Regions from separate parts of the Homo sapiens genome. Here all the other regions are linked to region 1. Evidence: promoter capture Hi-C in 16 types of primary human blood cells and fetal thymus (Javierre and others, 2016). All regions are on one chromosome and are shown on one strand. The core of a region is centred on a gene start or on the middle of the fragment in contact, and the rest is flanking DNA. Distances in the headings are between cores, read along the strand shown. Region 1 holds the start of WBP11 (WW domain binding protein 11). Region 2 has its middle 5.8 kb from the start of EPS8. Region 3 overlaps PTPRO (protein tyrosine phosphatase receptor type O). Region 4 overlaps PTPRO (protein tyrosine phosphatase receptor type O). Region 5 overlaps PTPRO (protein tyrosine phosphatase receptor type O). Region 6 overlaps PTPRO (protein tyrosine phosphatase receptor type O). Region 7 has its middle 110 kb from the start of ATF7IP.

What was found. Contacts are between HindIII fragments. The CHiCAGO score rates a contact against its expected background, and 5 or more counts as called.
Region 2: a contact is called between a fragment that was not itself captured here and the fragment with the promoter of WBP11 in region 1, in 4 of 17 cell types (activated CD4 T cells, naive CD4 T cells, non-activated CD4 T cells and 1 more). The highest score is 6.6, in activated CD4 T cells.
Region 3: a contact is called between a fragment that was not itself captured here and the fragment with the promoter of WBP11 in region 1, in 6 of 17 cell types (non-activated CD4 T cells, naive CD4 T cells, activated CD4 T cells and 3 more). The highest score is 9.4, in non-activated CD4 T cells.
Region 4: a fragment that was not itself captured here is called in contact with the fragment with the promoter of WBP11 in region 1 in 7 of 17 cell types (naive CD4 T cells, activated CD4 T cells, total CD4 T cells and 4 more); the score reaches 14.0 in naive CD4 T cells.
Region 5: a fragment that was not itself captured here is called in contact with the fragment with the promoter of WBP11 in region 1 in 2 of 17 cell types (naive CD4 T cells and non-activated CD4 T cells); the score reaches 6.5 in naive CD4 T cells.
Region 6: a fragment that was not itself captured here is called in contact with the fragment with the promoter of WBP11 in region 1 in 5 of 17 cell types (M2 macrophages, M0 macrophages, M1 macrophages and 2 more); the score reaches 10.3 in M2 macrophages.
Region 7: a contact is called between a fragment that was not itself captured here and the fragment with the promoter of WBP11 in region 1, in 11 of 17 cell types (activated CD4 T cells, fetal thymus, total CD4 T cells and 8 more). The highest score is 12.1, in activated CD4 T cells.

Annotation. Positions count from the first base shown.
Region 1 is chr12:14,800,938-14,805,290 of GRCh38, forward strand. WBP11 (WW domain binding protein 11) reads right to left here and starts at 2,541. Exons shown (of 12, transcript NM_016312.3): 1 at 2,415-2,541; 2 at 383-491. The coding sequence starts at 446. It overlaps C12orf60 (chromosome 12 open reading frame 60), which reads left to right and starts at 2,733. Exons shown (of 2, transcript NM_175874.4): 1 at 2,733-2,814. SMCO3 (single-pass membrane protein with coiled-coil domains 3) reads right to left here. Exons shown (of 2, transcript NM_001013698.2): 2 at 3,713-4,353. RefSeq lists an enhancer at 2,837-3,076. The HindIII fragment of the contact is 2,157 bases long and covers 2,067-4,223 here.
Region 2 is chr12:15,793,055-15,797,407 of GRCh38, forward strand. No RefSeq gene overlaps it. Among named protein-coding and RNA genes, the nearest start is that of EPS8, 5.8 kb to the left of the region's middle. The HindIII fragment of the contact is 2,050 bases long and covers 1,091-3,140 here.
Region 3 is chr12:15,583,630-15,587,982 of GRCh38, forward strand. It overlaps PTPRO (protein tyrosine phosphatase receptor type O), which reads left to right. Exons shown (of 27, transcript NM_030667.3): 24 at 3,268-3,422. Among named protein-coding and RNA genes, the nearest start is that of EPS8, 200 kb to the right of the region's middle. The HindIII fragment of the contact is 1,025 bases long and covers 2,045-3,069 here.
Region 4 is chr12:15,563,659-15,568,011 of GRCh38, forward strand. It overlaps PTPRO (protein tyrosine phosphatase receptor type O), which reads left to right. Exons shown (of 27, transcript NM_030667.3): 18 at 1,935-1,970. Among named protein-coding and RNA genes, the nearest start is that of EPS8, 220 kb to the right of the region's middle. The HindIII fragment of the contact is 3,168 bases long and covers 936-4,103 here.
Region 5 is chr12:15,543,005-15,547,357 of GRCh38, forward strand. It overlaps PTPRO (protein tyrosine phosphatase receptor type O), which reads left to right. Exons shown (of 27, transcript NM_030667.3): 13 at 3,565-3,704. It overlaps LOC105369672 (a long non-coding RNA gene), which reads right to left. Exons shown (of 3, transcript XR_002957403.2): 2 at 304-468. Among named protein-coding and RNA genes, the nearest start is that of PTPRO, 220 kb to the left of the region's middle. The HindIII fragment of the contact is 8,324 bases long and covers 1-4,353 here.
Region 6 is chr12:15,521,982-15,526,334 of GRCh38, forward strand. PTPRO (protein tyrosine phosphatase receptor type O) reads left to right here. Exons shown (of 27, transcript NM_030667.3): 11 at 2,833-2,984; 12 at 4,161-4,281. Among named protein-coding and RNA genes, the nearest start is that of PTPRO, 200 kb to the left of the region's middle. RefSeq lists enhancers at 3,577-4,353, 4,305-4,353. The HindIII fragment of the contact is 2,126 bases long and covers 1,450-3,575 here.
Region 7 is chr12:14,251,948-14,256,300 of GRCh38, forward strand. It overlaps the pseudogene GNAI2P1. Among named protein-coding and RNA genes, the nearest start is that of ATF7IP, 110 kb to the right of the region's middle. The HindIII fragment of the contact is 4,306 bases long and covers 1-4,006 here.

The DNA of each region.
Region 1 (4,353 bases), core at 1,291-3,790:
CATCCCTCTAATTATGACAACCAAAAATGTCAAGACATTTTTGTTTAATGTTTCATAAAAAACAACTATGAATCTGAAGGAAAAACATAACATAAAACGCGAAACAAGGGCTCGCAAAACTAATTTGCTCAAAATTTCCAATATAAAAAGAAAGATTTCAGCCAATTCTACTTTGCAAGTCAATCAAATTTGAAAAATAAAATACGGGTACTAATTTCTTTGCATATTTAAAGTCTTAATGTGCCCATACAAACCCTGAATATATAATTTATTCCTCCTATCACTGCTGGTCTTGTAATTAAGCCACAGAGAAAGAAATTCCCTAATATTTGCAATTTTTAACACTCTCCTACTTCATCATTCCACACTAATGGACACTTACGGGCTTGGTCTGTGGGGTTCATAAATTTTCCACTCTTGGTGGATGATGTAGATCTCCGTCCCATGTTGACAATTTGTATGGTTTACTTGTTCATTAAAAAAAGAAAAACCTGTGAAGGTGAAGACAAAGAAATAGCTTATATCTCCTAAATGTATTTCTTCCTTTTTCTAGTCCCTACCAATCTCTGAAAAAAAATTCCTTTAATTAGAAATTCTGTGAGACTGTTCTTTCCTTAGTTTTGACTTTAATGTCCAAGAAAGATGGCATCACCTTTCTTGACCATGAAAATTTAGATCTCTATCATTCTTCAGAAATGTGATGAGTGTGAAGACCACTTTGAATATCCTCAAGTCATCAGTTTAGCTTTTTTCTTATGGATCACAGCACTGACTTTGTCAACTGATAAAAACAACTAGAAAATGCTTTAACGATATGGCACAAACCATGAACATCAGAATTCATTAGTCCTTCTTCTATAACCTCCCTTTATTAACATGTAATTGTAAAAGAAGAATAAGAAGGGAATGGGGGTAATGGATCTAGGCTCAAAACACATACCTCACCTTTGCCTCTCTCCATGGTTTTTCTTGGCATGTATGCTGTACATTCTCAATACTTCTAAGACACTAAAAACTCATTAATTTAAGCATATTTAATTCAGATTCAGTTCTAGTTCAGATATAATGCTTGACTCTCAAGAGTTCAAAACACAACTAAAAATGCAAATATTTGAAATTAGTGCTATACTGAGAGCTCCCCAAAACTTAAATATTAAGACACATATTTTTCTTACTAAGACCTGACTCCCAATATATATTTCTTAAGGTAATTAAAGGGAATACTTATTTTTGTTTGAGGAAAAAATATTTTGTAAGCTAAAACTTTTATTAACACAGTACCCTATTACATGACTTCTTCCTCTTATTCCAAAATAATGGGGCTTAATTTTTTGAAGCGCAGTCTTTCCAGTAATAAAGGCGGACAAATTTGCTTCCTTTTGCAAGTAGACACTTTTTAAAGGTAAGAAAGGGAAGATTTTGTCAGCCCAGTTTATTACAGTTAATGTCTCTTTCACCAAGTGTCCAACTGCCCCGAAAGCCAGATGTTTCAGAAAGCCAGATGTTTCACAGCTGTTCTGGTGGCAATTACTTCAAGACAGCGGTATCAAAGGCTCTGATTTTTAGCTTCCTCATCTAAAAAATGGGGACATCAATTACTTTATAACAAAGCTCTGATGATACAATGAGATTACAAATAAAATATCCTGTGATGTTTGACTCACTACTTAACTAAAATCTTTATAATGGATCCATATTCCTGGCCTAGCTACCATACACCCTGTCAAGTGGTTTCCTTCTAAGAAAAACTGGGGATGGGGGGGTTAGGGGGGTGGGAGAGCAGCAGGGAGTAGGAGGTAGGGAAGGAGGAAAACAAGCAAAATCAGTACATATACAAGCTCTCCCATCTTTGATTGCCTGCGTTTTTTGTGCTTTCCTTTCTCAAGTTTCCTCAGGCTCATGTTCTGAATCTCCTCCCCCACAAATGAAACACAACGGATACGAATTACAGAGAATTTTACGGAAGACACTGGAGCTTAAGTCTGCAGATTAGTTTTTTGTCTACAAGCGGAGGCGACTGGAAAATCAAGCCAAATAAGCGTTGGATAACTCTAAACAGCCAAAGAAGCTTCAATGGGATAGGGTCCAGGTTCACCAAAGGAGGCAACACCAGCAACTGACGAAACCATAGCGACGGCTGACCGACCATGACTCGAGGTACAAGACGTCAAACCTAAGGCTACTAATCAACGTGCGTAAGAAGCGGCCCCAACCGACCCGGGCGATGCCAACCGCGCAACCACTGGTCGCCGCGCCACCCCAGGCCCAGGAATAGCCCAGTCCGCAACAGGGAGACCTCAACCAGGGAGAGGAGGAGCGGGGCAAAGGGGCTGGGTGTCCCCCAAGCCGCTGCGCGGGACGTGGAAGGGACGAAAGAGGTGAGGAAGAGTAGTAAATCAATTCAATACACTCACACTTCTGCTGTGCTCCCAGGACTACGAGAAGCGGGTAGGGGGCGACTCCCGGCCTCTTTCACTTCGTAAAGGCCTTCAACTGGGTCTCTCGGTCAACCCCTCAGCTACCGCCATCTTGAAACCTCGCGCCCCTCCGCACTCCTCACGTCATTTCCCATTCCTCTGTCCCGCCTTCTCTTAGCGCCGCTTGACCCTGGAACCATAGAGAATACCCAAGAATTCCAGGACCAGAGTCTCTTCCGGTTCCATACAATACTCAATTGGTTGGTTGTCGGCTAAGAGCCCGCCTCATTGCGCTCATCTAGTACAATAGGAATTAGAAGAAGATAGCTGCTAACTGAGTGGCTGACGGTCCTGTCTCTCGAGTTGGAGGCATCTTGACTTAGTTGCTGGGAGCCTGGTACGTTGAGCCGTCCGAGAACGGTACATTCTGCAGATAAAGAAGCGTTCTGCGTTTTCTGTCTTTTGGAATTACCTTAGTTTTTGCATTTTTCTGTTTCTTATGACCCAAGCAGGTGCGATCCTTTAGGGGTGTCTCCGTGTGTAAACGAATACCCAGATAACATTTGCCACTGAGTTTAATCCGCTTTGTAAGCATCAGGTTATCCCATGTGAGCGCCTAGTACGTGTGGAAATTTAATAGACAGGCAGAACAGAACGTTTGTAGACCACCTGAACAAATAAATTAGCACCCGTATTAGAGTCGCAGATTGCTTATATGGGCGGTGATTTATTATTTGTTAGTAGTGTTTTGAAGAAGAAATACGGGGATACATATGCAGTCGGTTTTAAGTTATATGAGTGGCAAGGTTGATATATATTGGCTATATTCCCGACTGGTCTTTTCACCAGCCAAAAGTCCTCTATGATGTCACTCTACGTACGGGATTCTTCACTTAACTCTAGCCTTCGCCCTTTCCCTACCTTCTATCCCCTCTTTCCGTGAGTCAGCCCCCACTTATTTCCCTTAAAGGTAAGTTTAAACATTTAAAAAACTATCTTAGAGGATACGCTTGGTTATTTCTAATCTTAACCTGACTATCCCATGTAGGAAGGCTATTCTTACCACCAGTTATAAATATTTCAAAATATTGATGGAGATACATACTAATTTTTAGCAGAATCTTTAAACTGCCCTTGAAGGTATAAGATCGGTCCTATACCTAAACTTACCTTTGTGTTAGGAAATTCTTGATTTGATTTTAGACTGAATTTGAGTGTCAGAAAGCAATGACGAGATATTGTAGGTTAAAGCTGATAAACCAGGTAGTACATAAAAAAGAAAATAATCTTGAACTGCGAAGGTGAGCTAAGTTGTAATGTTTTGCAACTAGTTTTTTTTCTTTCCTAACACATTAGTGATCATAGTTTTGCAACTCGTTTTGAAAAACAATGCAAGAAGAGAAAGAGAAAACAGTGTATGTTGGAAATATTAAAGTCTTTCATGTAGCTAAAATTTTATATGTAGCTACTATTTTTAAGATATGCTGAGCAGTTTTTATTTCAATACATTTCTTGTACTTGGATGGGAGAATCAACTATAACAAACACAGTCTGGCATCAACAGCATATTAATAATTTTGTCAGTATAGACTAAAAGAGTCCTCATGGGAATTATTGGTTGGCAAAGGATTTAGAAAACAAACACATCTGCAGAGATTCAGCGGAACCATTAATAGGCTTCCATAGCCTTTGGCGTTTTCTAAAATCAGGTAATTAGTGAAATGGCCCACCTAATGCGTCATGTAGCAAAGGCAGCTGCCTCCTTTTTGCTAGTGTTGAAAATGAAATTATATTCTTTTTTCTGAAAGCTTATAATAAATTATGACTTTCTTTTAAATGACAAATGCTTTGAGTAGTGACCTTCTATTCTGCATCCTAAATGCAATATGTGTAGCTGTGTTTTGCTTTCTTGTCTTCTAAATGTTTCAGTGTTTGA
Region 2 (4,353 bases), core at 866-3,365, 990 kb after region 1:
AAATTATAATGACTGAATTCTATCTGGGGAGTAAGAGCTATCTCCACATTACCCAAGAGTCAGAATTCTTCAAACATCCCTGTTCACTCCCACTCCCCAATCTGATGTATGAATATAATTTAGGGACTGCTGTGTATACCTCTGTAGACTCACAGCCTTAAAGCCATATAACATAAAACATATCCATGAGTAAATCTAGAAAAGGTACACTGTAGCTTAGAATATTATTATTATGATGATCTAAATCTTCTAAGTGTAACTTGGTAGACAAGTAATTTCAGGTTGGCTATCACCCTTGTTATTATTTCACACTGTTGAAAGAACAAACCAAATTGCTTGGATTATTATATTTGTTCTCACTTTAGGAGGTGCTTGGGCTTGCTTCTTACTTTGTAACTGATGTTTATATTTCTTGTTAGTTATGTTTCTTTACACCCATTTGGATTAACAAACTCAATTTGCTTTAGCCTTCAAATGTCAAAATGCCCTAATTTCTTTTGTAATATGTAATTAGAAATGTATGGAAATTTTGAAGCATGATAGGAAGTATTCTTAACATGGAAATTTTTTCCAAATATAACCTCTATTTTCACCAAAAATAAACTATATTAGTTAAAAATAAATAAATGAATATACAACTTTGCTTACCCATGGATGAAATCTTTTGCTTTTCCATCTTTTTTAATAATCAAGAATTAGTTTTCCACAAAGGGAAGAAAATCCAACCAGTGTTACTTGAGTAAAAAGCATCTGAAAAGAACTTGAGTCTTTTGAAGAATTTAATGAGTGTGAAATGGTCATTCATTCAACAAATACTTTTGGACTCAACTAATAATTATAATTTGAAATAATAATGTAGTTGAATCCAATAGTGTAGCTGAGGTAAGAGGGTAAATCAAGAGAGACCTTTGAAAGAAGGAAAAAGGGGAAAGAGACCAAATGAAACACATGGAAAAGGTAATGAAACTCTAAGAAAAAAGAGGAAACCAAACAAAATGTAGAGGACATTGGGAGCTCCTTCAGGCAAAGAACTCCCCATCTTATACACTATACTTATATGCATGTAGAGAGTTGGCATGTATTTTTTTTAAGCTTCACACAGAAAGGTAAATTAGATTATTTGAAAAGTTCTCCAGCTACACATCACCTGGATCCCGCATAAAATATACTTTGATATGCATTGTAGGACTCTGAGACAGTAAAGGGAATCTCTCAGGGTCCAAAATGAAAACAAAACAAAACAAAATTGCTGAAGCAGGTGGGGTAGGCAGTAATCTTTTAAATAAGACTTAAACCGGCTACAAGGTGAAGAAGCTAATCTTTTAAATCCCATGTTAGCTGACTCTGCTGGAAGGAAGTCAGTACGGTTTCAGGTCCTTGGGCCCACAAGTTCCCAAGAGAGATAGACAGAAATCCTCTTTGGAGAAAAATAACCTCAAGTTAGTGTCCCAGAATTTCCCACAAATAAACATCAACCAAATAGGAATTCATAATCAAAGATCTCAAGCCATATAAGAAAATTCTGCTGACATGAGTGTTAGCAGAATAAACAAATATAATTCGATTTATGAGGCAAAAAAACTAATTAGCTATTATCTGGCTGTATAAAGAAATAAAAATTAAAATCATAAATAAATATCTAAGATGACTAGGCATACGTGAAAAGAACCCACTAGAACTTTTGGAAAAGAAAAATATAACTGCTAAAATATAAAACCCCATAAATGAGTTAAAGAGTAGATTAAACATAGTTGAAAAGAATAATGTAAGCTACATATGAAGAAATTATGCAGAATGCACCACAGAAGGTGAAAAAAGACAGAAAATAATAAACATTAAGAGATATGGAATATAGAGAATGTTAAGATATTACTCATCTCTAATTAGAATCCCAGAATGAGAGACCACAAAGAATGGAGTAAAGACAAGAGAAGACACAATAGCTAACACTGTTCCCAGATTAACATAGGACATGAATCTACAAAAAGAGGAAGTCCTGGCTATATACATGTATCAAGTAGGATACCTGAAAAGAAAATGAAATAGAGGCAGTACATATACATGTATCACATAAGATGCATGAAAAAAAGCAAACCAATATAAACTACAGTGAAATTTCAAAACACCAGGGGAAAGGCAATCTTAAAAGCATCGAAGGGGGGAATATTATTTACAAAAGAAAAACAAGTAGACTGAATAATTTTCAACAGCAATATGGCAGCCAGAAGAGAGTGGAATATCTTCAAAATGTTGAATGAAAATAGCTGTCAACCTATAATTTAGTGTCCAGAAACATTATATTTTGAGAACAAAAATGTAATTAAGACATTTTTAGATTAAAAACTATTCTTTTCACTGCCTTCACTAGATGAACTTCTGAAGTACACTTTCAGATGAAGGAAAGTGACCCAGTAGGAAATACTGGAATACAAGAAAAAATGGTGAACAAAGAAGCTGATTAACATTTGGGTTAATATAAAGAGGCCTGGTCTGTACAAAATAATATTAATAAATAATATGAAATTGTGAGGCTTAAAAGACACAGTTTAAATGCTAGAGAATAACTTACAAATCAGAAGGAGGATAATTAGAGTTAAATCATTCTAAGGTTTTTGTATTGTTCTGAGGAGTTTAATATATTAATTTTAAGTGTCCTTAAGAAAAATATTCACAATAAGATTTTAACAGAAATGATCCATATGGTACTTCACAACCTCAATTTTACAGGTAAACACACACACACACAAAGATAATAAATCATAGAGTTAGTATGTGATGAAGCTAGGATTTGAATTCAAGCAGAGAACGTGGTTTTGACCATTATGCTCTACAATATCTTAAAGACTCTAAAAGAACGGAAATGTGATGTAGAAATTCCAAACCAGTAGAGGAAGGGAGAAAGAATAAGAGGTAAACAAATATTAACAATCAATCTTCCTCTGTAAGCCACAAAAAAGCAAGAAAAAAGAAATGTAGAAGGAAAGGAGACACATAGATAGAAGGTAAAGACTGAGGAGAAAAACATTCAAGCATGTAAATAATCACAATATAAATGGACTAAACTTTCTAGTTAAAAGACAGAGTCAAGGCAGTTTTTAAAGATATAGCTATATGTTATTTACAAACATAAGAACGTGGAAAGCTTAAGATATATCAATTATATAATAATTAAAGCTGGTATAGCTATGTTGACATCACACGCAATGAGCTTCAAGATAAAAAAGCATTATTGTGGCTAGAAAAGGTCATCACATAATGATAAAATCTACAAGAGGAAATTGAAAAACTCATTATCATAGTGTAGCTATTTCAACACCCATTCAACCACTGTTAAGTTATTGATATCTCTCTATATCTATCTCTATCTCTCAATATATATATAGATTACTTATATAGAGACCTATATCTATCGATATATGTATATATCATATATATAATACATATGTGGCATATAGCAATTAGAGAATACACATACTCAACAAACCCATAAGAAATATTTGTAAAAATTAACCAGCATACCTTAATACATTTCTGAGAATTTGCATCATCTAGAAAAGGGGTTAAAAATCTTTTTATGTAAAGGACCTGATAACAAAAGCTAAGGTTTTGGAGGTCAGTGGTCTCTATTGCAACTACACAACTCTGCCACTGTGTAACTCAATAGCAGCCATAGACAATACATAAGCAAATGACCTTAACTATGTTCCAATTAATGTAAGACCCACTAAATTTGAATTTTATGTAATCTTTACAGACCTCAAAATATTATCCTTCTTTTGTGTTGTTTGACCATTTAAAATGTACCAACCATTCTTAGTTTGCCAGCTGTAGAAAAACAGGTGACAGGCCAAGTGTGGCCCATAGGGTGGTGATTCACTGACCTCTGATCTTGACTCATCTGTTTGTAAGGCAGTACAGTTAGAAATCAATAGCCGACTAATTTTTAAAACATTTAAGTTTAAAATGAAATTTTAATTAATTGTACTTTTTAATTTCTAAAGATTAATTTAAATGGGATTTAAAAACAGACTCCCCGCCCGGCATGCTGGCTCATGCCTGTAATCCCAGAACTTTGGGAGGCCACGGCGGGCAGATCACGAGGTCAAGAGTTCAAGACCAGCCTGACCAACATGGTGAAACCCCGTCTCTACTAAAAATACAAAAAAAATTACCCGGGTGTGGTGGCACATGCCTGTAATCCCAGCTACTCGGGGGCTGAGGCAGGAGAATCACTTGAACCCAGGAGGAGGAGGTTGCAATGAGCTGAAATCCCACCACTGCACTCCAGCCTGGGTGATAGAGCGAGACTCCATCTAAAAAAAAAAAAAAAAAAAAAAAAAAAAAACAGACTTC
Region 3 (4,353 bases), core at 1,307-3,806, 780 kb after region 1:
CTGCTTTTGTGCTACATCAAGCTTGAGTAGCTGCAACCAAAACTATATGATCTGCAAAAACTAAAATATTTACTAACTGTCTCTTTGCAGAAAATGTTTGCTGACCCTTAAAATAGGCAATGGAAACAAAGATTGCCCGTATCAATACAACGTTAGAACTTGATACTACCTACTGATTGATCTCTACAGGAGATAAATCACTTCTTAGCCATTGTTAATTGCCACTTGTTAACTGGCAGTTAACAATGTCTTTTATGACCAGGAGAATTCAGGCAAATCCCCGTATGACTCTAACAGGCTGTGTTTCGTGTTGTTTCGGTCATTTAAAATTCACATTGCTTCCTTGTTAAGCACGTTTTTACTCAAATGCAGAGTTTCAGCTTAAGTGTCACCCCCTTTGTGGCGTCTTCTCTGGGCTTGGACACCGTTAGCCCATTCCTTCTCTGGGGCAGAGTCTTAAGTAAGCTGCTTTATCACAGCACACCATAGATAGTTACAATTCTCGCTTCTTGTGTCTGCCTCCCCAGTATACTGTGAGTTTCAGAAGCAAGTGCTGTATCCCTGTGGAATGAATAAATCAGTGAATGAATGAGTTATTTCAAAAATAATAAGGCACTTGTAAAGCATCAATAGACTTTCCGTCAGAGAAAATATTTGTCAATCCAAATGCCATTTGAACTCTGTTTTTTGTTCTTAGATATTTCAATTGAAAAGCCAGTGCAAACTGATAACCAAATACAGTACAAATCTGTCCCTAGGTTTGCACGTAGTAGAAAAAATTTCAGAGCACAAAATAGGGTCTGTTCCATTGCCTATTCTGTTGACAAAGAAGAGTCACATAGATTATTGCTTGGTCAGTACTATGCTTCTTGTCCTTGGTCTTAAGTGATGACCTATCTTTCAATGACAATCATGTGAAGGACTTGAAAAATAGGAATAAAACATTGAACAGTAGTGTTTGTTTGTAAGGAATTTACTTGTTACAAGCGTCTGGTACCAGAGTGCCCCCTTTTGGCCATAAGCATAATGAATCTAAATGTTAAGCTACAATGAAGGCTAAGTTGCCCAAAGAACATTGTGCTATGCTAATTAATATATTTTTCAATTTGTTTCATTTTTTGTTTATACCCTTCTTTATCCATTCCATATTGATATGTGGAAACTTTCCAATTATAAAAAGATAAAATTACATAAATAAGGAACTCAAGGTAAGAGAAATTTAGGAATAGCTAAGTAAGATAAAACCAGAAGAGTTTTCTCCTTTAACAAGAAAGGAGAGAAATGACCATAACACACAACTTGTCACTTTCTACTACTTGAAATTTGGCATCAACTGAGTGAGAGCTGGAGACTAAAGATCATCAAAAACGTGTTTGTTGCCAGGGACTTTGTGCCCTGCTATTCAGCTCACAGGGCTGACCCCAGTTCCAGGACCCCTGCCGTGTAGCTGCGGAGAAACTAACTACAATTTAATGATTTCCTGATTTTAAATCACCTTGCACTTTTTAACTGAATACATTTTCACTTCAACCGTACTGGAATATATATATTGGCTACAATGTACACATGTTATACAAATTATGATCAGCATTTAAACAGGGCAAGCATTTTCCTGAACTTTCCTGGCAACCAAAGTTATCTGGTGGCTGAGTATTCTTAAATCCTCATGATGTTGAATAAGTAAATTATTCTGCACAATTCTTTATGCCCAAGATAGTTTCTCAACATACTTCCTGAAGAGAGCAGTGAGGGTAGCCAGCGTCTTTGTAGACTTCATGTTCTGTGTGTCTAAGCCAGAGCCCTTGAACATAGTAGGGGAGGCACTGCATGCTGCTGGGGATATATTAGGTGCCAAGGGTACAATGGGTGTAGGGGAGGTGATAACTTATGTATATTTAAACAAATCTTACATATTTATTTATACATTTTATTTATGAATTGTCTTTATACGTTTATTTTCTGTCCAAGACCACTGACTCTTTGAAATTCATTTCTCTTTCAATACCTGAACTTAAATTTTAGCTCAAAACTGACAGCGAGGCCAAGCTTCCCTCCTTCCCAGTTATGATATAGTATTCCAGCCTCTGAGTGAATTCTAGGCTCTTCACAAGTTTGAGAACTGAGGGATGAATCAGACCTTTATGAAGCCTGGGTTTGGGATATTTCTGATGGCTGATAACAAGTGGAGAATATGTAACTCTTACAAGTTAGTTGGGACTAAAAAGAGTTGATCTGGAAAGATATACATTCTAGTTAATATGTACTCAGTTCAGAGAGAACAACAATATATTTGATGTATGGGTTAATAGGAATAGGAAAATATACAAGTTATACTCACTTACTGGGGACTCCCAGAATCAACCATACAATTGCACGGAGCTGGATGACGGTGAGTGATGGTAATGAGGTACTAGTAAGTAGTAATATCACACACATGATTACACTTAATTCACACAACAACTCTTGTTATAAGTATCATTAGGCCATTTTTAGATATGAGAAAACTGAAGCTCAGTGAGTCAAGTCCTCTAGTATCAAAGCCCAAGACAAGGATTCTCATATAAGTGATTTTGTGAAAGTGCATTCTTAGGGAAAGCCCATAAGGGAGCAAGGGAAGCAGATTGACAGAGAAGAAGCCCTACAGAGCATTCAGCTGAAAATCTCACCTGTGCTGGATCCCACAGAGAGTGCTGGGGGCATGAACAGCACCATGGTACTGTCTCACTCTGAAAAAGGCTGGATTTTTGTACCCCACAATTAGTCAGTCATTAGCTGTGGGCTTCCCTCAGCAGGAGAACGCAACCTCTTAGGCATTTTCTATCGAGGCAGCTCTGTGCAGTGGAAGGCAACTATCAAGAGATAGGTACTGCTGTGCTGTTAGCAGCAACTGGGAAAAGTGTGTCCCAGGCTGGCAAAGTGTATCTAAAGGGCACCAACAGCACTTTCTACAGTGTTTAATTCATTAGCCAAAACTGATGCAGCTTCTAAATGACAGAGCCAGGATGCAAACCCTAATCTGCTTAAGTGTTGTCCACAGGTACAGATTAGCCTACTTATCCTACTATTTGAAGCTTTATACAATTAGCGTGGTTTTTTTTTTCAATACCTATTTTATGCCAGATATGGTGCTCAAAGCTGGAAAGGAAAGTGTACTGACCAGGAGTGGAACGTGGCTCTACCTTTTTGCATGCTTAACTAGCAGAGTCCTGGGTCATCCTAACAGTGAACTGAAAAATTAATGCTTGTTTTTGGCTTTTTTCTCTAAAGGCTGACGAGATGCAGGATGTGATGCATTTTAACTACACTGCATGGCCTGATCATGGTGTGCCCACAGCAAATGCTGCAGAAAGTATCCTGCAGTTTGTACACATGGTCCGACAGCAAGCTACCAAGAGCAAAGGTCCCATGATCATTCACTGCAGGTAACCTCATCAACTGCATTTTCTATTAAATATTAGGAGTTGGTTTTGTAAGGGGAACAGCTCACCATTCCATAAGCCCTTATCAGGTTTAGTTGAAAATTAAATAAACTCTGATGTTTTTTAAACTATGATTAATTGATGTCTCACTATATACAATGTTTATTCTGGCTTTCCTGTATCTATACCCTATAAAATAGATGTTATTATTCCAATTTTTAAATGAAAAAAATAGAGAAGGGTAGAGATGTTAAGGGATTCACACAAGTTCATGCAACTAGAACATGGAGGAGTTAGTATTCAAATCCAGGCATGCCAATCTGCAAAGATCATGCCCTTAATATGTGATATTATCCTACTCCATCAAGGATTCTGGGTAGTTACAACATGGACAAATACAAGGTCAAATTATAGAAAGCTGATCACAGCTTGACATAATATAAATAGGCATAAAAACTAGAAAAGGAAAAGAAAAATGAAAATATTCAGCTTAGGAAGATAAACATATTTGCTATGATTCCTCTTCGGGATTGTCTCTTAAATTGTCAGACAGTAGAATGAAAAAGGATATAGGATATAAAAAAATCAAGGTCCACACTAATTCCCAACAGGAAAAGTTATCATTAAATTTAATTTGTTCTTCCTACTGTATGAACAGAGCTCCATCAAAATCTATCTCTGTGATACAATATTGCTGTAAAATCCTTATGCAACCTCAAAAGAACAGGGGACATAAACGTGCTCCAATGGCAAGTGAGAGGTGGCAGTGGGATGAAGATGTGAAGGGAAGCATTGGCAGCCATGCCAACCTAAGCAAATAAATCTACAATCCCAGACCTACTGCCTTGGCCCTTGTGAATTAGAATGACTAGAATGAGGAAGTATATGTGTGCATTCATGTGTGTTTGTGTGGAGTGTGTGTCTCCCTGGAAAG
Region 4 (4,353 bases), core at 1,270-3,769, 760 kb after region 1:
AGAAAAAAAATGTGTCTCTCCTCCATGAATCAAGTTTCTACGCAGCTGCCGAGTAGTAGCAGCTTAATATTTCAGCACTGAATTTATTCAGTGTTACCCTCTTACATACATTTGTTACTTCCTAGTTTCTTTTAAAGCCTGTTTGGATAGGAAAGTATTTTTTTGTTCACTCCTGATCACAAAATGTGTTGGCAGCCTCCTGACTTTACCAGAGCTGTTAGTCATCTCCGCTGACATTCTGCTTTCCGAAAGCACTGAAGTAATTGGCTCTTACTACAGGAAGTAAATGTGGAACTCCTAAAACTAACTAAATTACCATCACGGGGCTGAATAAAAAACATGATCAATAAATATTCCTTTAGGTTCCCAAATGCCTATAAGATACAGCTATGTCCAACATGATAGTGTTTTTTGAGGGGATCAGGGAGAGGCAAAGTAAAAACTGGACTGATTTTTCCCTCTAAATCTCAAGTGTGGAAGACAAAGAGGATGAGGGAGAAAAAATAGAACAAGAACCATTGAATGGATTGTTTTCACTTAGAAGTGGGAAGAAATTAAAACTACCTGAAAACCACAAACACCACTTGCCTTCGTGGACGTGTTCCTACATTTCTTGACCTGCATTATTTTCTCTTCATCCACAAGTCCCATCTTTTCAATCAGAACATCACAAGCCCAAGTCTAGTATTCAATTGTTAAAGGAATCATTAGGTGAAATTCAGAGGGTAACATGGCAGAGATTATTTTGTTTCAGTTCAACTGAATAAGCATTTATTGACCACCCACTAGGTGTTTCATTAACTATGCTCAGCCCTGGGGGGAAGCTATAGTGAGTGTAGCAAGGTGTGTACCTGCAACTAACAATCACACAATGTGAGAAACTCTCCGTTTGCAAAGTGCTGTGAAAGCACAAAGTACTGCTTCGTCCTGCTAAAAGCTTTCAGGAAGTGGAGATATCCAAACATTCATAATTTTAAATATAAATAAATATTTGGACACATTAAAGTACTAAGATTACAACTGGTTATTTACTATAGACTGTTTATTTTCTGAAAAGTTGGGTGCTTCTATCAAAATTATGTAAAGACCTCTGAAAATTACTTGCAAAAAAGTTTGCTGTAACATCACTTGTACAGTCAATCATGTTTCTGTATTTACTATTTATAGACAACAATAAGAATACAATCACAAAGTGCTTCAATAGATACTGTTAGCCTTAGCTAACTTAGGTAAGTTATCTTACTTGGTTGGGTGAAAATCATTACCTTAATTATCTCCTAAACAAATGTAACTAACTAAAGCATGCATTAGCATTTCCTGTGTTTGAGCTTATAGACTAGTAATGATGAAGAGCAAGCAGGTAATAGGTCCAGTTCTTCAGATAGCTTAAAAATTAGTTCAAGATGGAATAAAAACAACGCCATAGTAGAATTATACAAGGTACATGTCCACACTGACAGCACACATTCACATCCCCAGAGAAAAATGTCAGAAAATGTTATTTTAGTCTTTAATTAAGAAAACAACATTCCACCGTCTCTTTATTAGTTCTCCATTTATTCCCCCATTCTTCCTTCCTGCCTGTAGAAATTGGAGTGTTCAGGTGGTAGATAGATACTTCTATATATTTACAAACTGCTTTAGCAACTTAATCAACAGCAGTTAGAAATTTCATTTCTAGAACTCAGTTTTTGGCAAATGGGAAGTATAAAGTGCAGATATGTTCATGCAATCTAGTAGAGTTTTAAAAAATGAATCTGAAATTATTATTATCTTCTCATGTAAGGAAAAGTAAACAAACCTGATATGTGTTTAATGAAAATTAAATAAAACTGAGGTACCTGATGTAATTATTTAAAGCTGTTCAAGTTTAATTATTATGTTAATCAATTCTTCTGCCCAGATAAATTTGTCTTTTCTTTTTTAATTATCAGGAGTAAAAATGGTTTAAAGAAGAGGAAACTGACAAAGTAAGTTTTTCTTACTATGTCATTTAAAAGGATGTTTGTTATAATAATCTTAACGTTCCAATTAAAGATTGCTTGTCTTCAAAGAGAAGGGACGCTTAAGAAAGAGGCAAATGCATATTACAATAGCTAAGCACAATAATGTACTGGTTGTTTATGCCTGAGTGGCAGTGGCCACTAGAAAAGTGTATCACAGAAATCACATCAGAAATAAGGACAATGTTTATCATATCAAATCTGAGAGAGTGGATCGTTAGCAATTTTTAAAGTCTTGGAGGAGGAAGTATGGTATTCTAAATACAGTATATGAAAATCTAATATTTAACTACATCAAAGGGTTTCAAAAATCCTTTTAGTATTTTGAAATTCTGTGTTTATTGCAGGAAAAGGCTTTTACTCTATTTGATGTTATAATAGATACTTTGATAATGCTTTCTCAAGAAACCTGTATAATAAATAGAAAAGATAATTAATCTAGCCTGTGGTTTTCCTTATCTATTAAACCATTAAATGAGAAGAATTACTATTGTGGTAAGTGAAAATTAACCCCCAGTTGATTTCAAAAGCCTATTAGATTATCACCTCCATGCCTTTTCTTAGTTATAATTCTACATATGAAAAGTGGAACTTTCCTTTATATAGAGTTTGTTCTTGATACCTGCCTGGATAGAACATTGGTGAATTAGTACAAGAAGGAAATTAGGGGGTCCAGCCAGGTCTGTGGCATCTATGCTTATGGAAAGAAATCATGAGTAATCCATGACATAATCCAAAAGAAAAGTTGATGTAAAAATGTTTCTAGTTAGTCTTGAGTGGCATATAATTTTATGGCATATATGAAAACAGAATAATTTTTTCTAAGTCAATTTCATTTTTTATTTTTATTTTTTAATTTATTTTATTTTATTTTTTGGAGATGAAGTCTCGCTCTGTCACCCAGGCTGGAGTGCAGTGGCACAATCTTGGCTCACTGCAACCTCTGTCTCCCAGGTTCAAGTGATTCTCCTGCCTCAGCCTCCCCAGTAGCTAATACTACAGGCACACGCCACCATGCCTGGCTGATTTTTGTATTTTTAGTAGAGACGAAATTTCACTATATTGGTCAGACTGGTCTCGAACTCCTGACCTCATGTGATCCACCCTCCTCAGCCTCCCAAAGTGCTGGGATTACAGGCATGAGGCACCGTGTCCAGCCTCTAAGTCAATTTCAAACCAGCATACATTCCACTGGCTTATACCAACTGATGTAGGAGAGATAAGACCAGACTGAATAGAGGAGAGGGTACCATCACCTGGGAGGGATGATTTCACAGAAACAGAAAGACTTTGTTACCAAAAACTGTTGGTTGGGTTGGCAGGTGAGCTAAAGAGGCAGAGACTAGAGCATTTAGAAGATAGCGTCCTTGGACGAAAAGGAGAGACTGTCAAGGCTTGCTCCTCCCATGACTCAGGCAAAGAAAAGAAGGAGAAGCAAGACCCAGACAAAAGATAGGGTAGAGATTAGGAGTGGTAGAACATACCCACAAGCAAAAAAAAACTCACATCAATTCGGCTTCCACCTTCCCCCCTCTCATTTTCCTTTGACTCCTCTCTCCTTCTCTAGAAGACATTTCTTGAAAGGCTTTCCTCTCACCTTTTTATTTGCCTTCTCTACCATTTCTCTTTCCCTCCAAATGCCCCACCACTACCATATCCCCCTGGTTCCCATTTTCTATCTCCACTTGTCTTCATTCCATCCTTCCTTTCCATCACCTCCTCTTTTTCTTTTTCCTCTGTAGATATTTGTCCTTTTGGTCTCTACTCCCTTCCAGCTTTCTTTTTCTTCTCCTTGTCATTCTCCTTCTCCCTTATGTCCATTCTTCTGTTTGCTATTCCTTCCTCTCTCTCTCTTTTCCCTCTGCTTCTTGCTTTTACTTCTTTTAACCCATTAATACTTTGTCTGGTTTGCCTTCTGTATACATGTGCCCATTTTCCTAGTAACAAGATGAAAGCTAGAGTTGTTAAATCCAACTTTAAGGTCGATACACTGCCCAAAGACACCAGCCAGAGAGTGCAGTTCTAAGGGGGTTCATTCCAGGAGAGGAGTCCCAACTTTAGCCCATTCTTTTGGAAGGATAACAAGTTTGAAGTGGGAAAAGCTTTGAACCAGGACTTACTCTCCCTGGATTCCAGTGAGAATTCTACTGCTTAGTAGACATGTGATGTTGGGCTACTCACTTAACTCTCTTAGCCGTGGCTCTCTCAGCTGGAGCATGGAGCTAATGTTGTCTATTCCTACCTCAGGGATCAATTAAGCAAGATAATGCATGTGACTATTTATGAAGTGTAGCGTGTTTTATAAATGAGTTATTGTTATTAAGTAAAAACATTTCAGTTTAAAGGTATT
Region 5 (4,353 bases), core at 902-3,401, 740 kb after region 1:
GTAATAGTAATAAGTTCATAATTATAATAACAATAAATTGTAATAACTTTCTTTGTTTCCTTTGGGATACCAGAGTTAAATTTCTGCCTGATTAATTTAGGGAAGCACACCAATCACGAAGATCCTGAACAGTCCTCAAGCAGGTGATTTATGTATGTATTCATTGACCTATAGAGCTGACATGTAAACGTCTTCCAGAAAAGTACACAGTGATCACAGGTGCAGGGACCTTGAAATAATCTATTGCCCTCATATTCCACCCAAAAAGAAAAATTTGTTACGTGGTTGTTAGATGTCCCAGACCTTTAGGAGATTTTCCTGAGGATCTTATCACCTAGAGCCACATTCTCAGCCAGAACAAAGGAAACCCTCACTGCAGTATTCATGTCGTATTCCTTGGACCACTGGGAGCTCTTGCAGTAATTCATGATAGTTCTTGACTTTGCCCCTGAAATTGGATAATTTTACCTACATAAAAACAGAAGAGAACATTAAGATACAACCTCAGCGTGTCTGGTCTTGCCTGGTGCTTGAATCCTCCTCTTTTGGTTGATGAATCTTGACTCATGTTTTAAATCAGCCGATAAATAAGATTTTTTGAGTACCTATAGGTGGCTACTTCAAATGAAGACAAAGTCATTTATAACACATGACCCTTGTTCTTAAAGAATCTAATAGGATCTACTAGAATCAGGCCTTCACTCACATAGATTATATAGGAAATAATTAAAGGCAGTAGAATGTCAGAGAAGGGATAAATCATTAAGAGAAAGAGTCACCAAATGAGACTTCAAGGAGGAGGTAAGACTTTTTCTTGACCTTCGAATGAGCAGAATAAAGAGCATACTGATTGAAGGCAAACATGGGCTGACATAGAGCACTGCCCTGAAGTTCAGTGAGAAGACTGTCTTTCCCAGGAGGCAACACATCTGTGTGTCAGGAATGGTGGTGAAGCTGGTTGGATAGCATGCAGCCAGTTTAAGCAGGATCTTAAAGACATGGTATGTTTGGATGTGATACCACAGACAATGCACAGATAGGATTTAACATGAGTGAAATGGCATTTTAAGGTGATTTTAATCCGTTGTTGACAAAATGAAGAAAGAATTGATTAGAGCCAGGGAAAAAGAGGCACAGCAAGTTTGTGATGATCAATGAATGTGATCACAAAAGTCTAGACATGCAATATAATTTAAAAATAGATTAAAGGAGGCCGGGGGTGGTGGCTCATGCCTATAATCCCAGCTCCCAGCACTTTGGGAGGCAGAGGCAGGCAGATCACAAGGTCAGGAGATCGAGACCATCCTGGCCAACATGGTGAAACCCTGTCTCTACTAAAAATACAAAAAAATTAGCTGGGCATGGTGGCATGCGCCTGTAGTCTCAGCTACTCAGGAGGCTGAGGCAGGAGAATTTTTTGAACCCGGGAGGCAGAGGTTGCAGTGAGCCGAGATTGCACCACCACTGCACTCCAGCCTGGTGACAGAGCGAGACTCCATCTCAAAAAAAAAAAAAAAAAAAAAGATTAAAGGAAAAGGTAACGAGTTTTTAAAAGATATGCTCTCTGGGACTGAGAAATAAGGGAAGAGCCTCAGAATTGTGACTGAGGAACAATTCTGTAGTGTGCATTTTTAAAAAAGAAAAGCCTAGGCTCAGCCTAACTAATCATTCATCTATGCCCCCAAACAACTTCACACTTGGTTCTATAGATTCAAGTTCCACATGAGTCAGAATCCCTAAAGGACATAATCCTATTAGCAAAGGCAGTTATAAAGGAAGTGAGAAGTGGAAATTGACCTCTGTGTTTCATTAGCAGTCTTCCTCAGAGCAGAAGTGGGACAATACAATGCCTGGAGGACTGGACAATTCATTGCAAGTGAAAAAGGGCTCCTGACACCTATTGTGAATTTTGCTTGCCTAAGAAGAACTCATCTCTTTCCTCCTTCAACTCTTCTGCCTAACCTTGTCAAGTTGCTGCAGGAAAGAAACATGCTTCTTTTTAGTTGGACACAAGTTTAGGAGATCTGTGATAAATCATGGCAAGAATGATTTTGACATACTTCTTGGTCCTGGGCAGAGTCACAATGATGATATTCTAGAAACAAGGTTCAAATCTTTCCACACAAAGATGTGTACCTGTCAAAGCAGTGAAATGGCTGACAGGACTTTTTCAAGCACCTCTAAAGGACAGGAGCTGGAGAACAGACTTAGGAGAGTGGGGCAGAAAATGAAAAATCCAAGTAACAAGCAGGAAGAAACCTACAACAGTGGGTAGTCGTCTGACAGGCGCATATAGGTGGATGGAGGATGCTGTTATGTGAACCTAGCAGCAAGGTACAATATGTCCAAATAAGCAATGTCAGGGGGTCTGAGAGCAGGTAACAGGGACCCCAGCTTAAAACCTTGAGTTCAGGCACAGCACTCTGCATACTGGGGGACCTAGAGGGAAAGACAACATCCAAAAGACAGGGTCACAAGCAGAAGACCAGGAGACATTCAGGAATGGAGAATGAGACAGCAGATGACTATTAGAATTGAGGAACAGGCAGGGTTTTTTGGTCTCAAGAGAGCAATGCCAGTGACTCAATTACTAGAAATAAGTATGAAAAGGACAGACAACACAGCTTCCTTTACGAATGGATTTATTTATTATTAAGATAAAATGTCTAAGATAAAAAATTTATCTAATGTTTTATTAATCTTCCAATCCCCTCCTATCAATTCTTTTCTTAAAAAATTATATTATCAGCCAGGCACGGTGGCTCACACCTGTAATCCCAATACTTTGGGAGGCCAAAGTGGGTGGATTGCTGGAGCCCAGGAGTTTGAGACCAACTTGAGCAACATGGCAAAACTCCATCTCTGCAAAAAATGCAAAAATAAGCCAGGTAGTCCCAGTTACTTGGGAGTCGAGGCAGGAGGATCACTTGAGCCAGGGAAGATGAGGCTTCAGTGAGCTGTGTTCGCACTACTGCACTCCAGCCTGGGTGACAGAGTGAGACCCCCGCCTCAAAAAAAAAAAAAAATGATACTATCTGTTTAGCTTTATCTTTTTAAATTTTGACTAAATTTTCAAGCAGCCATTTTTCTGTCTGAATTGTTCCAGATAGTTTCCAGAGAAAGGAAGACAGGTTGTTGGCTAAATACCAAACTGCATCTCATCATTAGAAGGAAGCACACCAAATTTCATTTTTCTCCACCTTTATTAAGTGCAGATTTTTGTTTCTCATCCAGGAAGTTCTGTATTATCAGGGCAATGCTAACTTCAGTATAAATGACACAGAAACTATTAATAGATTATGACTATGATGAAACTGAAGTAGAAAACAGAAGTGTTCTGAAAAGAGAAGTAAAAAAATGGAAGGGGGAAAAGGCAAAGTATTCTGCCTTCCAAGTTAGATAGCTATCTTTATGAAAGGACATATTTCAAAGGCAATATAAAGTCTTTATGGTGCTCTTACCTACCTATATTTGAATTGGGGGATGCTTCACCTGCTTATTAGTGAAAGAAGAAAGAATACACTTAGTAAATTAAATTTTTTTTAAAACTTTGTCTTTGCTCAGAACCAGCTCCACCCAAATCACTCTTCGCAGTGAACAAAACCCAGACTTCAGTGACTTTGCTGTGGGTGGAAGAGGGAGTAGCTGATTTCTTTGAAGTTTTCTGTCAACAAGTTGGCTCCAGTCAGAAAACCAAACTTCAGGTACTGTACCTTTTGATCTACCTTTTCTCAGTTAACTTAAGTAAGGCTAATTATCTGGGCAAAATAAGAATCTTCTATTTCTTTGAGCTATATAAAATGAAAACTGTTTATTTGCTCTTTTGTGTTTCACTGATAGAAATTAACAGCAGGCTTAGACCAAGCCCAAAAGTTGTTATGAGAACTTTTATCTTTGTCTGTATCACTTGTTCCTAATTCATAAGTCACTCCAGGTCAGACAAAGGAATAAAGGTAGTAGGCCATTGAATTGATCAAGGGAAGAAAGACCCTACAATATAAAATATAATTTAACAAATATGAACCATTTGCCAAGTATATAAAGGCACTGAATAGAACACACATGATAGAATCAATATTTGCCTTCAAAACATTTTTATATGGTGTAGACATTGCATAAGTATAGAAAAAAGTAAAGTAAAATATAAGTACCACAAGACAGGTCCATTCGACCAAGAGAATTTAAAAGAAACGTGCATATCTAGTTTGTAAGGGGGACAGTCTTATTGCAAAATGAAGACTGAGAGAAGGTTATTGCTAAAGCTCTAGAATTACAAATGGCAGATACGATAAACAGAGTTATTCACCAGGTCAGAATGAATGAAAGGAAAGAGATGAACCTGCAGTTCTATGA
Region 6 (4,353 bases), core at 1,263-3,762, 720 kb after region 1:
ATTTTCTATCTTTTCCTGGGTCAAATAAATAAGTGATGCTGAACCAGCAGTCTACAGGTATTGTCTCAGCATATTGACAGAGATGGTCTCAATTTTCACATCTATAAAATGGGTATAATAATAATAAATACATAATAATAAATACCTCACAGTATGTGTGAGAATTAAATCATGTAATGTAAGTCACTATTATAATAGATTATTGTCTTTTTTATACTTATTTTCTAAACATATTGAAAATTCTAGTAGGTTTTATTTTAACCTTCTTTTTTTTTTTTTTACTTTTACTTTAAGTTCTGGGATACATGTACAGAACATGCAGTTTGTTACATAGGTATACATGTGCCATGGTGGTTTGCTGCACCTATCAACCTGTCATCTAGGTTTTAAGCCCCGCATACATTAGGTATTTGTCCTAATGCTCTCCCTCCCCTTGCCCCCACCCCCCGACAGTTCTCATGTGATGCTAATACTTATAACAAACATTCATAACTAGGTATGCTTTCAAAAATAATCATTCACTGAAGAATTTGTAATATATAAAGTAAAAACGCGTGTGTGTGTGATTTTTTTTACCTTCTTATTTAAAGCAAATAAGAATCTCATGCTTAACTTTCCTATGCTTTGAATTTTCCAAATTGTGTGGTGTAAAAGAAAATAGGAACAAAATATTTGAATTAGGTGTGATTTATTAGGAACTCAAGTCTACCATCTTTGTTAGGCAATTCAGTTGGCTAGCCCTCAATCATAGTAATTATGCGGAGGGGCCAAAGTATTAATAAACAAATAGTGACATCTTGTGGCCTTCCAGCAATATGCTAGGTTTTAAAGCAACAACATGGAAATAAAAATCTGACATGTGAGAGGAAAGATATATACTTCTGGGTTTGCAATTTTAAAGATGTTTCTTTTCCTCACTAAAATTAGGACATGAGAAAATACCCTTTGAAGAAATATATGCATAGGTTCTTGTATATGACGAAATATGTTGGAATATATTAGGAGGCTATAAGGAAGCCAAGGTTATTTTCCTTTAGTAGAATATTCTGAAATATGATGTAGATTTGTGTTACTTGTTAGATGCATTGATGATCTTTCAAGATTTTATTGCTAAGCATACTATATAAGTGCTACTCGTATTTCACATGAAACAAATGCATTTTTACTTCATATATTACAAATTCTTCAGTGAATAATTTTGAAAGCATAGCTAGTTATGAATGTTTGTTGTAAGTATTAGCATCACATTAGGGGAAATGATTCTTTATAGAAAATTTCCATAGATTTTAGTTGACATTGTGCTGTATCTCAGAATGGAACACCGACTGTCTTCAAACCAACATACACCTGGAATTTAAATTCAATTGTGTATTTGTTTTTTAAAATAATCAGAGTTAGCAGTTACTTTAAAAAGGTAATTAAAATGTTTTCAGAGCCTATATAGTATAAAGCTTGTGATGAATTCTCTTCCCTCGTTGGCAAATTTTTTATTTTATTTATTTACGTTTTTTGGCTGGGCGTGGAAGCTCACGCCTGAAATCCCAGCACTTTGGGAAGCCACGATGGGTGGATTGCTTGAGCCCAGGAGTTCAAGACAAGTCTAGGCAATATAGAAAGACCCTGTCTCTACAAAAAATATAAAAATTAGCTGGATATGAAGGCCTGTACCTGTAGTCCTAGCTACTTGGTAGACTGAGGCAGGAGGGATGATTGAGCCTGGGAGGTCGAGGCTGCAGTAAGCTGAGATTGCGCCACTGCACTCCAGCTTGCGTGACAGATTGAGATCCTGCCTCAAAAGTAAAAATAAAATAAAATAAAAGTAATTTTTTTTTTTGAGGCAGGGTCTCACTCTGTCACCCAGGCTGGAATGCAGTGGCAGGCTCATGCCTCACTGCAGCCTGGATCTCCTGGGCTCAAATAGTCCTCCCACCTCAGCCTCCCTAGTAGGTGGGACAACAGGGTGTGCCACCATGCCCAGCTGAATCTTCTAATTTTTTTGTAGAGATGGGGTTTTGCTATGTTGCACAGGCTGGTCTTGAACTGGACTCAAGCGATCCACCCACCTCAGCTTCCCGAAATGCAGGGATTACAGGCATTCCCTGCTTAAATTTTTAAAAATTTAAATGCATAAGATGATAAAGTAGCAAGCTCAGTGTTAGAATTTAGCTTCGTGGCTAAAAAAAAAAAAAAAAAAAACTTGTTCTTCCCTTCTTTCTCTCTCTCACTACTCACTCAGCAACATTTATTAAGAGCCTGTTTTCTGCAAAGCACTGGGCTAGACACTGTCAAAAATAATGTCTTGTTATTTTATGCAAATAACATTTGTCTTCTATCCTGCTTGTAGTACTATGATCTTCTATCTTCCTACCCTTGTATCCTACTGTTCTTTATTCCCATAAACACCTTTGCTGCAAGTAAATGAAAGAGACTTAGTTTGCAGGACTCTAAGTTTTTTAATCCTACTTGGCTAATAACTCCACTGATACCTATTAATATTAATTGGTTGATGTAACAAAAATATACCCAAACAAGTGAACTTTTTAGGAATTTTGTAATGGTGACATTTATCCAAAAGACTTTGATATCCTCAGGTACAGATGGGTCTGGGGGTCTTGTATCTTAGATATACAAGATGTGGGATCCCATTAAACAAGTGCCCATCCTGTATCACCATCCTTCACTGTTATTGAGAGGTCCTGAAGTTACCGGGACTATCGTGTGCTGTGAATTCTAATTCGCTAAGTTGACTCTATATGGGATTTCATGCTCTGCTGGTAAGTACTTTATTTATCCATCTATTATACTAAATTGTGCCTCGTTTCTCCCTTGTAGCCCCAGTGGCTCCGGAAATCACTTCTGTGGAATATTTCAACAGTCTGTTATATATCAGTTGGACATATGGGGATGATACAACGGACTTGTCCCATTCTAGAATGCTTCACTGGATGGTGGTTGCAGAAGGAAAAAAGAAAATTAAAAAGAGTGTATGTTTCTTTGAATGCCAGCATTGTGTGTCTGTAAATTTAGTTTTATGAACTATTGAAAACCACTAAGCAATCATTTATTGACACGTCAAATGTTTGCATACCAGTTGTCTGTTTTAGGCTCTGGAGATAAGACAGTGAACAAAAATTGAATTCTTCCTTTCATAGAGCTTACCGTTTAATCTTTAACAGTGAGATGTAAGAGCTCCAACTATTGATTTCATTTATATTTAGAATTATGATTTGAGCTTTTTCTTCAGGATGCCAAACATTTTCAAGAAAACTACAATTAACGTGTTTCCCATTTTTTCCCATATATCACCGACACCTAAAGATTTGGGGACCTTGGGACTACTGATTTCTTTTCTCCAAAATACGCTTTTGGATGTTTATTGATAAGGGGACAGACTAAACTACTGTAATAAAGAAACAAACAAAAAGAGAGTGGCTCAAACAAAATAGAAGTTTATACCTCTCCCATGATAGCACAGGACTAACCAGGCACTTCTGCTTTAAGGGGTCACCCAGGGAGGCAAATTCTGTTTTGTTGTTCCATCTGCCACTATGCATAGTCCTTGTCTCTAGAGAGGAAGCTTTATCACCATTACATGCATGTTCCAGCCTGCAGGAAGGGGAAAAGAAAAGGGATGATGTGGAAGCCCAGCACTTACAGGATGTGAACTGAACTGTCATTTGTCCATGTGACTTCTACTTACAATCCACTGATCAGAGCTGGGTCACATCATCCCCTCTAGCTGTAGGAGAGGATGGGAAATAACAATGGCTGTTAGGTAGGAAGCCACACGTCTACAGATATGGGTAGGTTTCTTTTGAACGTCTTAGAATGTACATATCAGTAGCAACTCAGTAATTGTCTTTTCTAAAACCTGTTATCAATATGTGAGAAAATGTCAGAATGAGACCCATTCCAAATAAGGGAATTCATTGCAAAATTTTTCTGATGTATATAATGCATTATTAAGGCTACCTCACATTGGGCCCAGCTGAGGAATTTATAAAATTTTCAGAAGATATAACGTATCTATAATATAATCAATTGCAGACTGCTGCATAGAACAGAGAGGGAATGTGTCTGCTATAGTCCTTTAGTTGTTTGGGGTGGTGCACTGATTCATTCACTAAAAGTTTAAACCCTTGATTTTGATGATCTTGCAGGTAACACGCAATGTCATGACTGCAATTCTCAGCTTGCCTCCAGGCGACATCTATAACCTCTCAGTAACTGCTTGTACTGAAAGAGGAAGTAATACCTCCATGCTCCGCCTTGTCAAGCTAGGTAAGAAGAGTGCACAGAGATGGGTGTGAAATAATCACTAATGTTTGCATCATTCGATTCAGCAAGAGCTCC
Region 7 (4,353 bases), core at 604-3,103, 550 kb before region 1:
CACAGGGGCTCACGCCTGTAATCCCAGCACTTTGGGAGGCTGAGGCGAGAGGATCACTTGAGTCCAGGAGTTCAAAACCAGCCTAGGCAACATAGCAAGACTTCCTCTCTACTAAAAATCTAAAAATTAGCCAGAAGCAGTGGTACAAGCCTGCAGTCTGAGCTACTCTGGAGGCTGAGGCAGGAAGATCACTTGAGCCCAGGAGTTCAAGGCCACAGTGAGCTATGACTGCACCACTATACTCCAGCCTGAGCAACAGACAGAGATCCTAACTATAAAAAATAAAAATAAAATGGGAACAATTGTACCTTCTCCAAAGGGTGGCTATGAGGAAAACAGTTTATATATACAATGTGGTTTATACATACTATATATACATATATATCATAACAGTAAACTGGCACAAAGTATTGCTATGTAATTGCTCTTATAATGATTATTACAACTTTATAGAGATATTTTTATAGATGAAAAAACAAAATAGATGAGGAAACCACGGCTTCAGAGCTTTGAGTTTTTCTGACCTCAATATTCGGTCTCTCAACTATTGATTACCCTGAACCAGTTAAAAGAAGTGAAAGTCAGCCGGGCGTGGTGGCTCACGCCTGTAATCCCAGCACTTTGGGAGGCTGAGGTGGGCAGATCACCTGAGGTTAGGAGTTCGAGACTAGCCTGGCCAACATGGAGAAACTGTCTCTACTAAAAACACAAATTAGCCGGGTGTGGTGACGCATGCCTGTAATCCCAGCTACTCGGGAGGCTGAGGCAGGAGAATCTCTTGAACGCCAGAGGCGGAGGTTGTGGTGAGCTGAGATCGTGCCATTGCACTCCAGCCTGGGCAACAGGAGCGAAACTCCATCCCAAAAAAAAAAAAAAAAAAAAAAAGAAGTGAAAGTCACAGAATTTTGTAGTCAGTTAGGGAAATCCTACCAGTTTCACAACGAGTCAATCAAAACCTTGCAATAAATACACAATAAAGCTGTGCTTCAAATGTCCTCCAACACCTAGCACAGCTTTTAGAACAGCTAATTTGCTTAGGTGAAGAAATGCTCCAGGCAGGGCACAGTGGCTCATGCCTGTGATCCCACCTCACTGGGAGGCAGAGGTAGGAGTCACTTGAAGCCAGGAGTTTGAGGGCAGCCAGAGCAACACAGAGAGACCCTGTCTCTGTGAAAAAATAAAAAAATAAATAGGCCAGGCATGGTGGCTCATGCCTGTAATCCCAGCACTTTGGGAGGCCCAGGCGGGTGGATCATTTGAGGTCAGGAGTTCAAGACCAGCCTGGTCAACATGGCGAAAGCCCATCTCTACTAAACATACAAAAATTAGCCAGGCTTGGTGGTAGGCACCTGTAATCCCAGCTACTAGGGAGTCTGAGGCAGGAGAATCGCTTGAACCAGGGAGGTGGAGGTTACAGTGACCAGAGATTGCACCACTGCACTCCAGCCTGGGCAACAAAGTGAGACTCTGTCTCAAAAAAAAAAAGAAAAATAGAAAAAAATAACCAAGTGTGATGGTGCATGCCTATAGTCCCAGCTACTCTGGAGGCTGAGGTGAGAGGATCACTTGAGCCCAGAAGTCAAGGCTGCAGGGAGCCAGGATCAGGCCACTGCACTCTAGCTAGCATCAGTGACAGAGTGAGACCCTGTCTCAAAAAAAAAAAAAGCCCCAAAGACATTACTCTTGTGTTGGGCTGAAATCCAGTGAATTGGTGGCCCCTCTCTCTCTCTCTCATCTGAAGGTTTTCAGAGATGCAAATTGCCTACTTGAAATTCTGTGGCATTAGACTTCTGCTTGGATGAGTCCCTGGCCAGGAGTAGAATCTTTTTTTTTTTTTTTGAGACTGAGTCTTGCTCTGTCACCCAGGCTGGACTGCAGTGGCACGATCCCAGCTTAGTGCAACCTCTGCCTGCCGGGTTCAAGCGATTCTCCTGTATCCCCTCCCTAGTAGCTCAGATTACAGGCACCCACCACCATGCCCAGCTAATTTTTATATTTTTAGTAGAGACGGGGTTTTGCCATGTTGGCCAGGCTGGTCTCAAACTCCTGACCTCAAGCGATCCACCCACCTCAGCCTCCCAAAGTGCTGGGATTACAGGCGTGAGCCACCTCGCCCAGCTAGGATCCATTTTTTTTTTTTTTTTTTTTTTGGGACAGAGTCTCGCTCTGTCACCCAGGCTGGAGTGTGGAGTGCAGTGGCGCGATCTCGGCTCACCGCAACCTCCACCTCTTGGGTTCAAGCAATTCTCCTGCGTCAGCCTCCTAGTAGCTGGGACTACAGGTGCATGCCACCACACCCAGCTAAGTTTTTGTATTTTTAGTAGAGGTGAGGTTTCACTGTGTTAGCCAGGATGGTCTCAATCTCCTGACCTCATGATCGGCCCACCTTGGCCTCTCAAAGTGCTGGGATTACAGGCGTGAGCCACCATGCCCGTTGTGTGTGTGTGTGTGTGTGTGTGTGTGACACGAAGTTTCAATCTTGTTGCCCAGGCTGGAGTGCAATGGCATGATCTCAGCTCACTGCAACCTCTACCTCCCGGGTTCAAGCAATTCTCCTGTCTCAGCCTCCCGAGTAGCTGAGATTACAGGCGCCCGTCACCACCCCTGGCTAATTTTTGTATTTTTAGTAGAGATGAGGGTTTCTCCATGTTGGCCAGGCTGGTCTCGAACTCCTGACCTTCGGGTGATCCACCCACCTCGGCCTCCCAAAGTGCTGGAATTACAGGCATGATCCACCAGGCCTGGCCGCCAGGATACTCTTTTAAAGGAGGAATTGGTAAATCCTTTCCCTCTGGTGATAGGGACAGTTTTGATAAAGATGGAAGGGGGAAAACCATGTGCATGACTCCAGACTCAGAAACCAAAACCCAAGTTGAATTCCATCTCAGAGTAAAATCAAGTACTACAGATGAGAAAACACAGACGGTAAGAATTATAAGACTAGTGTGTCTTTTCTTAGGGGATAAAAGCTGTTTGACAGCATCTGCAACAAGTGGTTCACAAACACGTCCATCATCTACTTCCTCAACAAGAAGGAGCTGTTGGAGGAGAAGATCACACACAGCCCCTGACCATCTGCTTCCCTGAGTACACAGGGTCCAACAAGTATGATGAGGCAGCCAGCTACAACCAGAGTAAGTCTGAGGACCTGAATAAGCACAAAGACACCAAGGAGATCTACACACACTTCACATGCGCCACCGATACCAAGAACGTAGTTCGTGTTTGATGCCATCACCGACGTCATCATCAAGAACAACCTGAAGGACTGGGGCCTCTTCTGAGGGGCAGTGGGACCTAGCAGGATGGGCCACCACCAACTCTGTACCCCCCAACCCCTGAGGAAGATGGGGCAAGAAGACCATGGTCCCCACCTGTTCCCTGGACACTTTTCTCTTCTTTCCTTTGTTCTTAGCTCCCCCATCCCCTCAGCTTCAGACATAGGGGAGGGGTTGCCACAGGCCTCCCTGTTTGAAGCCTGCCCTTGTCTGAGGTGCCAGTAATGGCCATGGTACCCCCTTTCTGGGCATCTTTCTGGTACCCCCCAGAAGCTGTGAAGATTCTATTCTACTCAGTAGCTCTCATTATGTAAAGAGGAACCCTGAAATAAATCAGTTGTTCCTGAAAGTTCACAAGAGTAAGAAAACAGACTGAATCGTAAAAGAACTAACTGGTATAAAAGAAGAAGCCAGAAAGTAGTGGACTGGGACCAGAGAAATAATATTTGAATTTAATTAATCTGTTCAACAAATATTTGCTCCTTGCTAACATTTTGCCAGGTCCTATGCTTGTTATACAGTTTTGATCAGACAGACACGGCCCAAGGGTACTTAGAAAGCTAGTTGCGGGTGAAGGGGGAGAGCCAATGTACAAGAAAACAAATATATATAATTGTAAGTTACAGTGGTGCTACAACAGAAAAAAAGAGGTTGCCATGTAAGATGATAAGAAGGTATAAGGAATTTACTTTGGACCAAGCATTCAGGAAGGCCTCTGAGGAAGGCAAAGCTTGACCAGAGGGTAGGAGGAACTCAGAGGACAGTGAAAGGAGAGAGGAATAAGGGGTGGGGGGGGAGGGTGGAGATTTCAAGGTGGAGTGAAAAATGCAAAGATCCTAAAATAAAAGCATCTCTAAGAATCAGAGGGCCAGTTTGGATGGCTTGACCTCTACCCTTCTTGAATCCCCTTTGATACTGAACATTTTGGAAAATCCCGTGTAGCATATACTGTGTGCCTTCCCACAATAACTGATGACTCTTAAATCTCACAAAAACAAATTCAACTGATGAATTCACGTCCTTTTAACATACATTTTGAAGATTATCTTAGCCCAAACCGGCACCCACATCCTTC